2 separate regions of the Homo sapiens genome follow, and region 2 is linked to region 1. Evidence: promoter capture Hi-C in human tissues and cell types (Jung and others, 2019). All regions are on one chromosome and are shown on one strand. Each heading gives the region's core, a stretch centred on a gene start or on the middle of the fragment in contact. The rest is flanking DNA. Distances are from core to core; before and after follow the strand shown. Region 1 holds the start of CCDC81 (coiled-coil domain containing 81). Region 2 has its middle 30 kb from the start of PRSS23.

Region 1 (3,883 bases), core at 906-3,405:
ATTGTGTGTGCCTTGGGGCTTGGGTAAAAATGACTGCCCATTCAATGTGGGTTTTGCAAGGCAAGTTGGAGCTTGCAGAAAAGTAAATGTACATTGAAATACTTGGGAACATTTTGGCCCTGTTTGTTTCCTTCAGTGTTTGCATAAATCCCTACACTCTACCTGTACCTCTCTCTCTTCCTCTCTTTGGTAAATTATCTTAAATATTATAAAGTAATTCATGCCCTTGTTAAACAGTAAATAAAGGAGAAAAGTGAATATAAAAGTTCTTGGAATGCCTCCTCCACCATACAAAATTTTGCCTGATCCAAAATTCCACTGTTAATATTTTTGTGTATGTATCTTTCCTCAAATATCCCATATGTTTACAAAAATATATATGAATACGTATGCATACTTATATACTTATATTTGAAGGAAACAGGATTACATTATATAAAAATACTATGCTGCTACTGGTTTTCACTTACTATATTTTGAAACTTTTTCAACATCAGCACGTAAATGTGCAGTTTCCTTTTAAGTAAACTCTTGAAATGTATTCCAATGTATGTATTCACAATTTAACCAGTTCCCTATGATGGTCATCTTAGGCTAATTCTAAGAATTAACATTATAAACAATGTTGCATATACATATATCTTTGTATGTATCATGCTAATACATCCAATTTTATATCCAAATATATCCAAATTTGTAGCAGTGGAAGTACATAGTTTGCCTGAGTTTTAATAGCAACTGAAAAGTATGTATTTTCAGGATATATAATATTTATAGCTCATTAAAAGTTTCTAGTCAACACAGGGTTACATGTATCTACACAGCCTCTTTTGTCAAGAGACCTTTGACAAAAGGAAAGTAAAACCTTGGAAGAAAAGTCTTTGTCCTTATTCTTTTTACAGCTTCCTTTAGCCATCTACAATTCACTAATAATTAGCATCCACCACCATCTTCTGGAACTGAAGACAGCTTTTCTAGAGATTAAAAGTACCACTATATTTAATTCAAAATCTAATGTATTGTAAAACAATTATTTTTATAATTCCATTATCTTAATGTGGAACAATAATGCTGATATTGCCACTAAAAATTAGCTGGCATTATCTATTAAAATTGATCATATGCATTTCTCATGACCCATGAATCTACTCCTAGTTATATACACATCAGAAATGAGTACATCTATCTGTCAAAAGTGTTCTGTGAGACTGTTTGCAGCAGCCTTATTCCCAGTAGCCTCAAAGGGAAACAACGCAAATGCCCTTCAACAGTGGAATGCATAAATTGTGCCATACTCATAAAAAGGAATAATATGCAACAGTGTAAATGAAGAAATTATTACCATAGAAACTATGGATGAACCTCATAAACATAATGTGAATTTGAATAGAGCCAGACAGAAAAGGATACATACTATATGATTCCAAAGATTCAACAGGCAAAATGAATCTGCAGTATGTGTTGGCTAATGACTGGAGGGGTAATGAAGTGCTGATCTGTGCAATGTGCTAGCATTCTATTTTTTGACCTGGATGGGTTTTGCATAGGTATGTTCAGCTTGTGATAATTACCAGCAGAGGGGAGAGCATGCACGCAATTCTTCAGGATGAGATTGGTGACATGTAGAGAAAAGGGGGAAATGACTGTAGTTTAAAAAAAGTCAATTCCCTCCTCCCCACTTCTCCAGCTCTCCATTTCCTAGGAAGAGAGCCCAGGGAAAAGCAAACCAAGAAACAAATTCCAGCTCAAACTCAAACTCTCAAACAGATCTGGAGACTCAAATATCGATCTCTCTGGGCAAAAGGCATTCCTAGATTTGTCCAAGGTACAAAAACTACCACTCTAACCACGTTTCTTCGCTGCCCGGGGTCAGAGAAGTAAAAACCCATTATTTATTTATTTTTAAGTTACTTCCAACCTCGCTGCCTCGAGCTTCTGAATCGCCTGGGCAACCTGGAAGCCGCCCATCTAAGGGGGTGAGGTCGAATCCCAGCCTTGACGCCTTAGCAACCGAGCGAGCCTTTCTCGCGTCCCAGCAACGCGCCCTTCCCTCTGCCGGGCCTATTCTCCCTGGTGCCCCTCCCTTCCTCGAGGCTGCAGCTCACCCCTCATTGGGTCTCTCGTTGGTCAGGAGGGCGCGGGTCTGCACACTCTCACTCGGTGCCGGACATCAGTTCCTGCGGCTCTTGCTGTGGGAGCTGCCCGAGAGCCAGAGCAGTGGGGAGGGACGGCGAGAACCAATGTTTAAGTTTATTTAAGAAAGAAGAAAAAGAGTCAAGAAGTTCAAGATTTTCGTCACTCTTATTTTTAAGGCACATCCAAAGCTCCGTGGAGAAGGGGCTGGAGGGTGGGAAAATTATTTTTGTGCACATTCCATATAAGAAAGAAGAGACCCATCGAACATTCAGTACGGAGTCACCTGGAAATTGGAGATGTTGGATACGATCGCCCGTGCCCTGCAGGACCTGGGCAGGCAGGTGCTGCCCACTCTGCCCTCGCTGAGCCAGGAGGGTAAGCGTGTTGGGTAGCAGGGGGTGGCCCTGGGGATTGAATCTTCATCTGCTTGCAGGGGAGGCGGGGGGACCCACTTCCCAATTCCCTGGCTCAGGCCTGGCCTGCCGTGGCTAAGTTGCCTTGACAACCAGCTGGTAATCACATCCTGCCCACGTTGGACGCCCAGAGACCCTTTTCTGGTTTTGATTAAACCAGGGGATGCGTAGACAGCACAAAGTAAGTGCTCAATAAACGGACTAGCACAAAGTAAGTGCTCAATAAAGGTTAGGTAAAAACAGCCACTCCCACACCACTCGCTGGGATGGATCACAACCCTTTTGCCTACCTAGAGAAAAGAGATGCAGGGACCCTAAATGGCTCCTTTTGAGAGTTCATGCAAAGACGGTTGATTTTGTTGCCTTTGACATCATGCCGTTGTATTAAGAAAATGAGATGATCATAAAAAGCTACAGGGTAAGTACTTTGGAAGGGGACCTGGCACCTTCTCAGAGAAAACTCATTAGGCTTGGTTAGTAGCAAGACAAGATCTGTTTTTAGCATCGTTTGTAGAAGAGTCACCCCAAAGTGAGGCTGAGATCTGTCTGCAAACCACAGGAGAAGAGAGGTGCTGCAGGAATGCAAACTCATTATTATCAAACCATTGTAACTTAGAGATGTTGCTTAGGCTTTAACCAAATGACCGCAGAAAACAAATAGGAATGGCTGCTTCTTTCTCTTCCCCTGCATCACTCCTATCTTTTCCTCTCAAATCATCCTGAAAGATGCATTGAAGATAATGGCTTAATGAATTTAAAAACATTTGCTATATTTGTAAATTTATGTATAGTCATTCAAGGAATTCTGAAACCCTGCTATATGCTGAGCACTAGTTAACTTACGGTGAACAAACATCTTGGAATTTACTGTTTAGTGGGGAAGATGCACATTAATCAAATAATCACACAAATCAATGCAAATTTACAATTTAGGTAAATGATACCAGGGAGGAGGTAAATGGTACAGTAAGAACTTTTTTTAAAGATGATTTTTTAGGGTAGTTGTAGATTCACAGTAAATTAAGAAGGAGGGACAATATATTAGTTTATTTGTACACTGCTATGAAGATACTATCCCAGACTGGGTCATTATAAAGGAAAGAGGTTTAATTGACTCACAGTTCTTCATGGCTGGGGGAGCCCTCAGGAAACTTAAAATCATGGCAGAAGGGGAAGCAGGCATGTCTTACATGACGGCAGGAGAGAGAGAGAGAGAGAAGCCCGGGGGACCAGGGGAAACTGCCATTTATAAAACTCTCAGATCTTGTGAGAAATCCCTCACCATCATGAGAACAGCATGGGGGAAACTGCTCCCAGGATCCAATCCCCTCCCA
Region 2 (3,883 bases), core at 469-2,968, 460 kb after region 1:
TATTACGTAATGGCCTTCTTTGTCTCTTTTGATTTTTGTTGGTTTAAAGTCTGTTTTATCAGAGACTAGGATTGCAACCCCTGCCTTTTTTTGTTTTCCATTTGCTTGGTAGATCTTCCTCCATCCTTTTATTTTGTGCCTGTGTGTGTCTCTGCACATGAGATGGGTTTCCTGAATACAGCACACTGGTGGGTCTTGACTCTTTATCCAATTTGCCAGTCTGTGTCTTTTAATTGGAGCATTTAGTCCATTTACATTTAAAGTTAATATTGTTATGTGTGAATTTGATCCTGTCATTATGATGTTAGCTGGTTATTTTGCTTGTTAGTTGATGCAGTTTCTCCCTAGCCTCAATGGTCTTTACAATTTGGCATGATTTTGCAGCGGCTGGTACCGGTTGTGCCTTTCCATGTTTAGTGCTTCCTTCAGGAGCTCTTTTAGGGCAGGCTTGGTGGTGACAGAATCTCTCGGCATTTGCTCGTCTGTAAAGTATTTTATTTCTCCTTCACTTATGAAGCTTAGTTTGGCTGGATATGAAATTCTGGGTTGAAAATTCTTTTCTTTAAGAGTGTTGAATATTGGCCCCCACTCTCTTCTGGCTTGTAGAGTTTCTGCCGAGAGATCCGCTGTTAGTCTGATGGGCTTCCGTTTGTGGGTAACCCAACCTTTCTCTCTGGCTGCCCTTAACATTTTTTCCTTCATTTCAACTTTGGTGAATCTGACAATTATGTGTCTTGGAGTTGCTCTTCTCGAGGAGTATCTTTGTGGCGTTCTCTGTATTTCCTGAATCTGAATGTTGGCCTGCCTTGCTATATTGGGAAGTTGTCCTGGATAATGACCTGCAGAGTATTTTCCAACTTGGTTCCATTCTCCCCGTCACTTTCAGGTACACCAGTCAGATGTAGATTTGGTCTTTTCACATAGTCCCATATTTCTTGGAGGCTTTGTTCGTTTCTTTTTATTCTTTTTTCTCTAAACTTCCCTTCTCGCTTCATTTCATTCATTTCATCTTCCATCACTGATATCCTTTCTTCAAGTTGATCACATCGGCTCCTGAGGCTTCTGCATTCTTCATGTAGTTCTCGAGCTTTGGCTTTCAGCTCCGTCAGCTCCTTTAAGCACTTCTCTGTATTGGTTATTCTAGTTATACATTCGTCTAAATTTTTTTCAAAGTTTTCAACTTCTTTGCCTTTGGTTTGAATTTCCTCCTGTAGCTCATAGTTTGATTGTCTGAAGCCTTCTCTCAACTCGTCAAAGTCATTCTCTGTCCAGCTTTGTTCCGTTGCTGGTGAGAAGCTGCGTTCCTTTGGAGGAGGAGAGGTGCTCTGCTTTTTAGAGTTTCCAGTTTTTCTGCTCTGTTTTTTCCCCATCTTTGTGGTTTTATCTACTTTTTGTCTTTGATGATGGTGATGTACAGATGGGTTTTTGGTGTGGATGTCCTTTCTGTTTGTTAGTTTTCCTTCTAAGAGACAGGACCCTCAGCTGCAGGTCTGTTGGAGTTTGCTAGAGGTCCACTGCAGACCCTGTTTGCCTGGGTACCAGCAGCGGTGGCTGCAGAACAGGGGATTTTCGTGAACCACGAATGCTGCTGTCTGATCGTTCCTCTGGAAGTTTTGTCTCAGAGGAGTACTTGGCCGTGTGAGGTGTCAGTCTGCCCCTACTGGGGGGTGCCTCCCAGTTAGGCTGCTCGGGTGTCAGGGGTCAGGGACCCACTTGAGGAGGCAGTCTGCCCGTCCTCAGATCTCCAGCTGCGTGCTGGGAGAACCACTGCTCTCTTCAAAGCTGTCAGACAGGGACATTTAAGTCTGCAGAGGTTACTGCTGTCTTTTTGTTTGTCTGTGCCCTGCCCCCAGAGGTGGAGCCTACAGAGGCAGGCAGGCCTCCTTGAGCTGTGGTGGGCTCCACCCAGCTCGAGCTTCCCAGCTGCTTTGTTTACCTAAGCAAGCCCGGGCAATGGTGGGCGCCCCTCCCCCAGCCTCACTGCCACCTTGCAGTTTGATCTCAGACTGCTGTGCTAGCAATCAGCGAGACTCCATGGGCATAGGACCCTCCGAGCCAGGTGCGGGATATAATCTCCTTGTGCATCGTTTTTTAAGCCTGTCGGAAAAGCGCAGTATTAGGGTGGGAGTGACCCGATTTTCCAGGTGCCATCTGTCACCCCTTTCTTTGACTAGAAAAGGGAACTCCCTGACCCTTTGCGCTTCCCAAGTGAGGCAGTGCCTCGCCCTGCTTCAGCTCGCACATGGTGCACTGCACCCACTGACCTGTGCCCACTGTCTGGCACTCCCTAGTGAGGTGAACCTGGTACCTCAGATGGAAATGCAGAAATCACCCATCTTCTGTGTCGCTCATGCTGGGAGCTGTAGACCAGAGCTGTTCCTATTCGGCCATCTTGGCTTGACTCTGTAATATCCTATAGAAGTGTTGCTCCTCATATCACAGGGGCTATACACCCCGTAATATTATTCGTAATATCCTAGGGAGACATTACTACTAATATCACAGAGGTGTACACCCTTTAACATTATTTGTAATATCCTAGGAAGATATTACTCCTAATATCTCACTGGGTGTACACCCTGTGATATTATTCATGATATCCTAGGGAGATGTTCCTCCTAATGTCATCAGGGGTGTACACCCTGTGACATCATTTGAAATATTCTATGGGGATGTTACTTTTAAAGTCACAGGGGGTTTACAAACTGTGATATTATACATAATGTGCTACACGGATGTTACTCCTAATGTCACAGGCGTGTACACCCAGTGATATTATTTGGAATATCCTAGGGGGATGTTTCTCCTAATGTCAACGGGGTTTACAACTTGTAATACTATTCGTAATATCCTAGGCGGATGTTATTCCTAATGTCACAGAAGGTGTACACTCCGTGATATTATTTTTTATATCCTAGCAGGATGTTATTACTAATGTCACAATGCTTGTACACCCTGCGATATTATTCATAATATCCTAAGGGAATATTACTCCTAATGTCATAGCGGGTTTACACCTTTTTGTATTATTCGTAATATCCTAAGGGAATATTACTCCTAATGTCATAGCGGGTTTACACCTTTTTGTATTATTCGTAATATCCTAGAAAGTTGTTACTCCTCATGTCACAGGGTGTGTACACCCTGTGATATTTTTTGTAATATCCTAGTGGGATGATACTCCTAATGTCATAGCAGGTGTACCCCCTGTGAAATTTTTTGTAATAGTTTTGGGGGATGTTACTTTTAATGTTACACGTGGTATACACACCGTGATATTATTCGTAATAGCCTATAGAAATGTTACTCTTAATATCACCGGGGCTCTACACCCTGTAATATTATTCATAATATCCTAGGGGAATGTTACTACTAATGTCACAGGGGGTGTACGCCCTGTGATATCATTCCTAATATTCTAGGGGATGTTACTCCTAATGTCACAGGGGGTGTACACACTGTGATGTTATTCATAATATCCTAAAGGTATGTTACTACCAATGTCATAATGCTTGTACACCTTGTGATATTATTTCTAATATTCTAGAGAGATGTTACTCCTAGTGTCGCAGCGGGTATACACCCTGTCATATTATTTGTAATATCCTATGCCAGTGTTCCTCCTAATGTCACAGGTGATGTGCACCTTGTGATATTATTCACAATATTCCGGAATGATGTTACTCCTCATGTTCCAGTGTGTGTACACCCTGTGATATTATTCGTAATATCCTAGGGGGACCTTACTCCTAATGTTCGAGATGGTGTAACTCCCGTGATATTACTCATAATATCCGAGGTAAATGTTACTCCTAATGTCACAGGGGATGTATGCCATGTATGTACACCCCCTGTGATATTCTTCATAATATTCTATGGGGAT

The links. The method cuts DNA at HindIII sites, captures the fragments that hold promoters and counts their contacts. A contact is called where the count stands out against the background at its distance.
Region 2: a fragment that was not itself captured here is called in contact with the fragment with the promoter of CCDC81 in region 1 in 1 of the 25 tissues and cell types used here (IMR-90 fibroblasts).

Annotation. Positions count from the first base shown.
Region 1 is chr11:86,372,732-86,376,614 of GRCh38, forward strand. CCDC81 (coiled-coil domain containing 81) reads left to right here and starts at 2,156. Exons shown (of 15, transcript NM_001156474.2): 1 at 2,156-2,511. The coding sequence starts at 2,433. The region is part of intron 2 of LOC105369421 (a long non-coding RNA gene); the gene reads right to left. RefSeq lists a silencer at 1,896-2,190. The HindIII fragment of the contact is 17,191 bases long and covers 1-3,883 here.
Region 2 is chr11:86,828,239-86,832,121 of GRCh38, forward strand. It overlaps a transcript of PRSS23 not described here. Among named protein-coding and RNA genes, the nearest start is that of PRSS23, 30 kb to the left of the region's middle. The HindIII fragment of the contact is 4,294 bases long and covers 1-3,865 here.